Linked DNA regions of Homo sapiens: region 2 is linked to region 1. The links are contacts of gene promoters, found by promoter capture Hi-C in human tissues and cell types (Jung and others, 2019). All regions are on one chromosome and are shown on one strand. The core of a region is centred on a gene start or on the middle of the fragment in contact, and the rest is flanking DNA. Distances in the headings are between cores, read along the strand shown.

Evidence for each region. Contacts are between HindIII fragments. The study calls those that stand out against the background at their distance.
Region 2: a fragment that was not itself captured here is called in contact with the fragment with the promoter of TCIRG1 in region 1 in 1 of the 25 tissues and cell types used here (liver).

What each region holds. Positions count from the first base shown.
Region 1 is chr11:68,036,706-68,041,159 of GRCh38, reverse strand. It overlaps TCIRG1 (T cell immune regulator 1, ATPase H+ transporting V0 subunit a3), which reads right to left and starts at 2,135. Exons shown (of 20, transcript NM_006019.4): 1 at 2,041-2,135. RefSeq lists silencers at 134-263, 1,944-2,023, 2,084-2,263 and an enhancer at 2,155-2,776. The HindIII fragment of the contact is 15,208 bases long and covers 1-4,454 here.
Region 2 is chr11:68,297,327-68,301,780 of GRCh38, reverse strand. It overlaps a transcript of LRP5 not described here. Among named protein-coding and RNA genes, the nearest start is that of LRP5, 13 kb to the left of the region's middle. RefSeq lists enhancers at 796-1,543, 2,293-3,040. The HindIII fragment of the contact is 8,628 bases long and covers 1-4,454 here.

The DNA.
Region 1 (4,454 bases), core at 886-3,385:
CCCCCATCTGACAGAGGTGGAAACTGAGGCCTGGGCAGGCTTGATGCGGTGCTGAGGTCACGCAGAAAGTAAGCAGTGGGACTGGGAGACCCCGAAGCCCACCCTCAGGCCGACCTCAAGCTCTCTCCTGGCTTGCTCTGCCCATGGGGACCCCCGCCCCTACCTCCAGCGTCTCCCAGTGACACCGGCTCCACCCCCACCTTCACTCTGGCCTCCCTCCTCTCGGGCTGCCGTCACCCTAGACAGGACCCCACTGGCCCAGGCACTTAGGCCCAGGGCTGCCCCGGGGGTGGCTGGAGCCCTCGCTGCTCCCTGTGGAGCTGCATGTGCTGAGTGGTAGGAGCGGGCATCTCCACCGGGTACCCTGGGGCTAGCCAGGGAGCACTGCTGTGGGGGGGCTGTCCCCTGAGGCCCGGGCCGCCCGGCAGCAGCCGCAGCCTTCCAGGTGTTGAAACCAACAAAAGTGAAACTACAGAATGGCGGGGAAGGGCCCGGGGCCTTGCTCAAGGCCGATGTGGGGTGGGGGCAGGTGCCAGGCCACCTCCAACCCGCCCTGGATGCTGGGGCCCCTCCAGCTCCAAAGCCACTGCTCTCAGGGCCCAGGGCCCCTCTGTGGGAATCAGTTGCTTAGCTCGAAAATTAGGGGGAGGGGACAGGCCTGGTCAGGGCCCCGCCTGCCCAGCCAGTCACTTCCTCCCCTGGGTCTGGTTTACTTAACTCTAAACAGGGAAACGCAGCCCCAGCCCCAGCCTGGGAAAGGAGAGAAGGAGGGAACGAGGGAACACTGAGCAGATGGCCCAAGGCTGCAGGTGGGCAGGGCAGGGGGCAGCGGGGCTGGGTTCCATCCCTAAGGACCAGGCCCGGCCACAGGGCAGAGGGACTTGGAGCCCAGGCTGAGATTGGGTGTGTGACCTTGGGCAAGTCTCTCACCCTCTCTGTGCCTCTACTTCCTCTTTGGGTGAATGGGACGTGGCACCCCTGACAGAGACAGGATCTAGGGAGGTGACAAAAATAACCAGAGCCTCAACTGAATCCCTTCATCCACACGACCTCACACTAATCCCTGGGGGGAGAAACCCTTGGGGAGGGGGTACGGTGCTTTTGTTTCATACAGGACTCCACTGACACTTGGAGAGGTAAAGTCCAATGTTATGTGCCCAGCACAAAGGGTGAGCTCAGAGGAGGGTTGTGTCTGACCTGGCTCCCTTTGGGGCTGTGCTGGCCAAATAAGGAGGTGTGGGGAATCAGCTCTGGGGATCTGGGGAGGGGTCACCCCTGGCTCAGGGCCATCAGGGCTCCCACAGCCACTATGCCGAGGGCTCGAGGGCCGGGCTCCTTCCAGCACTTCCCAGGGGGTGGGGGAACAACCTGTAATGGGCGGGGGGAAAGGTGTGGGGACGTGATCAGCCCCCGTGCCTGGCATGTGAGGCTCCACTGGCTCACCCCCTACCCCTGTCCCCCTTGGTCCCCGCTCTAGCCAGGGTCACCCAGCCACTTTTATGGTGTAAATGAATACGCCTCCATCCTGCGGCCCTGGGGTCCAGGCTCCAGCCCACTCCTCACCCTGTGCCCCTTTCCTGGCCCCTCCAGGAACCCAGCAGGTCTCTCTGCACCTCTGCCCTCCCCTCCAGATGATGGGAAGGCAGTAGGAGAGGGTCTGGCGCCCCCTCCATTCCAAATGGGGTGGGCTCTGGAGTCAAATGACCCAGCTGGTCTCCAGCTCTGACACTTCCTAGTTGTGTGGTCTCAGCTTCCCCATCTGTAGAATGGGTCCCTCCCTCCAAGGAAGCAGCAGCGGGGAAAGCTCCGCGCACACCAGGCCCGGGAACGCTGGGCTGTGTTGGTAAACACCCCATCCTTCTCCTCCTCCCTTGGGGATCCTCCGTGGCCCCCCGCAAGGCCTGACACCCTGCGGGGTGGCGGGCTGAGCTGCATTCACGGAGCCAACTGGGTGGGGCGCCAGGATCTCCTCCCCGGGGCAGGGGGAAGAGGGTGGGCAGGAAATTCTGGGGCTCCGCAGACCCCGGCAGGGGCACTCACCCCGGGTGTGCTGCGCGCCGCGCCTCCGCTGCTGGCTGCCCCGCTCCGCGCACGCCGGGCGGGACTCAGAACTGCACTCCCGCCAGCCCGGGACTAGGCGCCGCTCACTCCTTTCCGGGCAGGCGGGACGACGGGGAGGGGCCAGGGACGCCCCGCCCCCGGCCCAAGGCTCCACTGGAGTCCAGGAAGTCTGGGAGAGGTTGAGCCCAGGCTGTGGCCTGGCGGACGGGTCCTGAGGCGCTTAATCCCGGAGAGGAGGCCTGGAGAAAGGAGCGGATAACAGACCACTGCCAACCGCGCGCGTCTATGCTGGCCCCGATGCAGGGGCAGCTCCGCTCAGGCCCAGCTCAGGATAGGAGATGAGACCCTGCTCTCCTCTCACTTCGAGGCTTGTGCGCCTCTGGCTGATGGGACCCCAACATTCGCAGGCTCATGGGCTTGGGGTCCCCAGGATGCTCCCCCACCTCCGGGACCCCTCCCTTGGGCGGCAGTGAAACCCGCCGGTGCTTACACCTTCCTGCTCTTGACCACCCTGGAGAGGCCCCGCTCTGGCCCTTGGGTGGGTGGCTGCCCCACTCTGGGCCTGCTTCACTGGCAGCAGGACACAGGGCCAGGCCATGCTGCCTTGTTCTGCCCAGCGCCCCGCACCCAGCAGGCCCTGGGAGATACCCTGGGGCCAGAGGCCAGCTGTCAGCTCCACCTGCAGCTGCAGCCGCGGGGGGTAGAGGGGGGTGTCACTGTGACCTTGCTCCAGGTCAGCACCATGGGCGTCATCAGGTCCTAGTGCCTGGAAGCTGGGACTCACGACCGTCCAGCTGCCTGCACTTTGGACAGGCCTGGGGCATTCCCACTGGAGGCCAGGGGCCCTTCAGCTCTGGTGATCCCTAAGCCCCACACAGCGAGCACAGGCCTGTGGGGCTGCGGCAGGGGTGGACAAGTGGAGCCCCAGAGCCGGGCCTGGAAACTGAGTCACAGCCAAGCTCAGCTGTGGTTCCTCAGAAAATTGGGGGACTTGTGGTTGGGCGCCATAGGCCTGTTCTGACAGGGTCGGGGCCTGATACAACCAGACAGCCTGAGTGGGGTCTCAGCAGTAAGTGCCTGGGAGACCACGGTAAGGGAAAGAACCCAGCGGTGAGCTGGAAAGACTGACCCGCTTGGAATAGAAGTATTCAGTGCACAGCTACAGGCTCCATGCCACGCTCTGACGGCGGTTACGTCTGGGAAAAGCTAAACCGGCGGTGCTTCAGGAGTCCTGCGCCTGCCTTGTTTTTGGAAAGAACACCTGTTTTCATCAGTGGCCAAGATGAGCTGCGGGCCAGACCTGTGGACACTTCCCGGGCTCCAGGCTTCCCCTCGCCTCCTGCAGTTACTTCTCACCCCAGTGCCACAGGCTGTGGGGCCCAAGCGGGAGCCTGGCCACTTTGGCATTAGATGGCAATGCCTGGTCTAGGAAGGAGGCCCAGGTGTTAGACCTGAGAAAAGCTCCCTGGGAATGGGCTGGGAGAGGCTGGTGTTTTTGCTGCAGGCCTTCTCAGAGCCTTGAATGTCTACCATGCAGTACCTGCCAGCAGGCACACAGCAGCTGGAGCATTTCCAACACTCACTGGGCCAGGAAACTTGTTCTTTCGAAGAAGTAGCTTTTTACAAAGTAGTGCTTTGTAAAAAGCACTTTTGGAAATGATGGTAGATGGGGGGGGTCAAGGTCTCTGAACTGAGTTTTATTATGGGATGTGCCCTGCATGGCCCTGAGCAAGCCCTTTCACCTCTCGGAGCTGGTTTCCTCACTGCAAATGAAGTGAAATCCTTCCACAGTACTTAGCACAAGTTCAGGGGGGCTGCTTTTGGCCATTATATGGGCAAGGGGCTTGTGTGTGGCCCTAGGGAAACCCCACCGTGTCGCTGGGCCAGCAAAGCAGGAAGTGGTGAGCAGTGGCCGGGCCAGCACCCTGGCGTAGGGAACACAGGAAAGAGGATGTGGCTGGACGCAGGCCAGCTCAGGGCCAGCAGGGCCTGTGTCACCCTCGTGTGACTGTCACCCCAAGCAGGCTTCCTCCTACCCCCAGCAAGGATGCCCCGGCCTGAGTTTCTGCCACTTGCTGTTCTTCAGCCTGAGGTCTTGGGAGGCTCCAAGTCCTAAGCGTCTTACAAGTGGATGGCTCTTGGGAGACAGGAGGCCCAGGCCCCAGCCAGGACACCCGGGAGAGTGGGAACGGCAGGTCTGTGGTGACCTCTGGCATCGCTGGGCCTTGGGGAAGACGCCCAGGAAGAGGCAGGGTGACAGGGATGCTGCGGCCTGTGGTCTAGCCATGAGAGCCTGGTGGGGCCCTGGAGTCTACAGGAAGGCAGGGCTGGGGCAGCAGGACTCCAGAGAGCATAAAGACTAGGTGGCGACCTAGTCCAGTTGGAGGCACCAC
Region 2 (4,454 bases), core at 678-3,177, 260 kb before region 1:
GGTGGCGGGCGCCTGTAGTCCCAGCTACTCGGGAGGCTGAGGCAGGAGAAGAATGGTGTGAACCTGGGAGGTGGAGCTTGCAGTGAGCCGAGATCACACCACTGCACTCCAGCCTGGGCGACAGAGTGAAACTCCATCTCAAAAAAAAAATAAATAAATAAATAAGAATTGTTAGTATTTTGCAGGTGTGACAAATGATTCTGTTTCTGTGGCAGAATGTTCTCAGGAGATCTCTTTTGAACTCTCATGGAAAGCATCATGCTGTTGGCAACATCACATTTATTTTTATTTATTTATTATTTTTTAGAGACAGGGTCTTGCTCTGTTGCCCAGGCTGGAGTGCAGTGGCACAATCACAGCTCACTGCAGCCTCAACCTCCTGGGCTCAAGCAATCCTCCTGCCTCAGCCTCCCAAAGTAGCTGGGACCACAGGCGTGAGCCACTGCACTCAGCCCAATGTACCTTCAATATTTACATTTCTGGCAAAGGTAGCAAAACCTTAACAAATTTTGAATCTAGATAATAAAATTATGAGGCTGGGTGCAGTGGCCCTGACAGGGATGGCTCACATCTGTAATCTCAACATTTTGGGAGGCCAAGGTAGGCGGATCACCTGAGGCCAGGAGTTTGAGACCAGCCTGGCCAACATGGTGTAACCCTGTCTCTAACAAAAATACAAAAAAATTAGCCAGACGTGGTGGTGCACGTCTGTCATCCCAGCTACTAGGGAGGCTGAGGCAGGAGAATTGCTTGAACCCGAGAGGCAGAGGTTGTGATGAGCCGAGATCGCGTCATTGCACTCCAGCCTGGGCAAAAGCAAGAGCGAAACTCTCTCTCAAAAAAATAAAAAAAAAATAAATTAATGAATTAATTAAAATAAAATAAAATAATGGATAGTCACTGTAAAGAAAAAATAAATGTATATATCAGCCAACAAGTGATGGAATAGAGCACCCCATCTCCCTGGCTGGACAGATACATCCCACAACACCTGGAAGGCGGCTCCATGTAGAACTTTCTGGACTGCTTGAGGTGCTGTGCTGGAGCACGGTGACAGAGGAGCTGGACCATGGACCTCCCCCGGCCCCCACCAAGGGCGAGGTCCCCCTGTGGTGGGTCTGAGGGAGGCATCCGTATGGCCTCTGCGGCTTGGGCAGGGAATTTGGGGTCCAAGTACTTGGTGCAAAGCCTGGAAAGAGGGTTTGGGTGCTGAGGGCATATCCCCTGGGCCACATGGGGGCAGAAGTGGGGCCCCCTGAAGCTTGGAGTCCTGGGCAGGGGCATCTATTTTGCTGTCTGAGGCCTTCAGTACTTGAAGCAAAATGGAGGCAGAATGTCCCACCTTAATGCCCCTGATTCCTCCAAACCAATTCCAGAGACAGCAAGGGCCAGAACAGGGATGGCCCTGCCCAGGGTCATGCAGCGAGGAAGTGGCCAGGCTGGGATCTGAACCCAGGCTAATCCCCTCCCTTGTCCTCCTCCAGGCCCTCACCCCTGCATAGAGCCCTCCAGCTCACTCATCCTCGGCCAGCTCCATCTCCTCAGCTTGTAAACGCCACGGGATTCTCCCTTCTTAAAAACAAAGGCCTGGCCAGGCACGGTGGCTCATGCCTGTACTTTGGGGTGGCTCCCAGCACTTTGGGAGGCCAAGGTGGGCGGATCATGAGGTCAAGAGATTGAGACCATCCTGGCCAGCATGGTGAAACCCTGTATCTACTGAAAAAAAAAAAATTAACTGGGCATGGTGGCTAGCTACTTAGGAGGCTGAGGCAGGAGAATCGCTTGAACCTGGGAGAAAGAGGTTGCAGTGAGCCAAGATCGCGCCACTCCACTCTAACCTGGCAACAGAACAAGACTCCGTCTCAAAAAACAAACAAACAAACAAATAAACAAAAAAAGGCGGAGCGCGATGGCTCGCGCCTGCAATCCCAGCACTTTGGGAGGCTGAGGCGGGCGGATCACTTGAGGTTAGGAGTTTGAGACCAGCTTGGCCAACATGGTGAAACCCCATCTCCACTAAAAGTACAAAAATCAGCCAGGTGTGGTGGTGGGTGCCTGTAATCCCAGCTACTCAGGAGGCTGAGGCAGGAGAATCGCTTGAACCCATGACCTGGAGGCTACAGTGAGCTGAGATTGCGCCACTGTACTCCAGCCTGGGCAACAAGACTCTGTCTCAAAAAAAAAAAAAAAAAAAAGACTGGCCCTTCCCCTTCAGCTCTTCCTCAGGGTCCCTGAGCACTCTACACCCCCGTCTACACTGAGCACTCCACCCTGCTGTCTACACTGAGCACTCCACCCTGCCATCTACACTGAGGACTCCACCCCACTGTCTACACTGGCTGCCTCCCGCCCTCACCTCCTGCTAAGGCCATTCCCCGCTGCATCTGTCTTCTAGATTCTGCAGCCTTCAGCACGCTGGGCCCCTCCTTTGTCCCCTTGAGCCACCTCCAGCCTCCCCCTGAGCTGCTACTCCTCTCCCAGCAGCCTCCACCCAAGCCCCTCCAGTCCCCAAGCTGTCCCTTGCATCCAGCACTGCCCTTCCACGTGCCCCTTCCCTCCAGCTTCACAGCAGGGTGGGGCCTCCAGGCCCTGCCCACTGTGCCCATCCACAAGTTGTGGTGGGAGCTCCGAGGGGAGGCAGGGGTGTGCATGGACTTGGGACGTCCAAGTCTGGGACCAGGGGCAGCTGGTTGGTGGAGTGTGGAGGGGGATAGGGACTTTCAGGTAGAGAGGCTGTAGGGGCAAGATCGGGACGGCGGATGTCCCTAAGGAGGGCTCTGACCTGGGAAATATTGTGCAGCTTCCTCTTTGCCATTCCTGGAGCTCAGACACTGGCCGGCTCTCACCCCGCCCTTCCTGCAGGACACAGCTCCATCCCAGTGAGTTCCTAGTGTAGACATCTCCAGCAGCACGGATGGGAAAGGAAGTCATCAAAGGTGCCCAGGACCGGAGGCTTTTTCTGGAGGTGGCAGAGGAGGGTGTGGGTCTCAGGGCTCTGGCTGAGGGCAAGCGTGGGAGGTCTTAGGTCTGCACCAGCCCCGTGAAGGCCCCTCCTGCTCCCTGGTGGAGTCCTAGAGGGAACAGCAGCCCCTAGGCTCTAGCAGGAGTGGGTAGGGGCTTTTCTGGCTTCCTACTGTGCCAGCAGGATAGCTGGGCCTGGCACTGAGCCCAAAGATCACATGCCGGGGCATTGGCGCAGTGAGGAACAGACCCTCGCCAAAGCTGGCAAAGAAGACCCCATGGGGTGCAGCTGGTGAAGCTGAGAGCTCAATGTTTGGGGGAGCCTGGCAAAAGGGGTCCTCCCCTCCCTCTGCAGGCCAGGATCGCAGGTTTTCCCTACATGTTGGTAATTCTCAAACAATCCCATGGCCACTGGAGCAAAGATCACAGTGGGCGGCGGCCTCGGGAGCAGTGGACAGGGCACGCAGTGCCTTTGATGCCAGAGCCCTCGCCCCAAAGTCAACAAACTCTGCAGCGGACTTTGCACCCGGACTTTGTTTTCACCATACAAGGAAAGGGACAGATCACAGGCCCTCTCGCTGCCCTCGCTGAGCCGGAAGCTGCAGCGTGAGCTCTCTCAAGCCCCATTTCTAGGTTCCCCAGGCGCACCCCTGAGCCCCTACTCGCCTATTAAGTTCTCCTAATAGCCCTTCAAGGTCTTAATGTATGTCCATTAGACAGAGGGGAAAACTGAGGCGAGGGCAAGTGACTTGACCGAGGTTCCTCGGCGAGCAGGGCGTGGAGCTGAGAACCTCGTTATTACTGCTCCCCACACAACCCTCTGGCCGTTCTTGGAAGAGGCTGAGCCCGGGAGGGCCAGAGTGACCCAGACACCATGGGCCGCCTGCGGTAACACGTGCGGCCACGAGGGGGCAGCAGCGTCCCGCCCGGCCGGGCTCTCTCCGGCGCTCAGTATCCGTCCCAGGCCAAGAAGAAGAAACTCGGGGAGGAGGGCGGAGGGGGCTGCGTGGGAGGACGTGGAAGATGGACGTGGCCAGGGGAGTGGCAGCTGCACACACTGGATGCTGTTAAGATGAAGGGAAAGAACGTGGGCTCCGAGATCACTGGACACGGTTCCACCCTTCTTCCCGCTCACTGCATGGCCCTGGGCGGGTTGTTGAACCCTTGGAAACCTGTTTTTCCTTTTTTCCTTTTTTTTTGAGACAGGGTCTTGCTCTGTGGCCCAGACTGGAGTGCCGTGGCACGATCTTGGCTCACTGCTGCCTCCCAGGTTCAAGTGATCCTCCCAGCTCAGCCTCCTGCGTAGCTGGGACCCCAGGTATGTGTCACCACAGCCGGCTAATTTTTGTATTTTTTTGTAGAGACGGGATTTCGCCGTATTGCCCAGGCTGGTCTCAAACTCCTGAGTTCACCGGATCTTCCTGCCTCAGCCTCCCAAAGTGCTGGGATTACTGGCATGAGCCACCGCACCCAGCAGAGACCTCAGTTTTCTA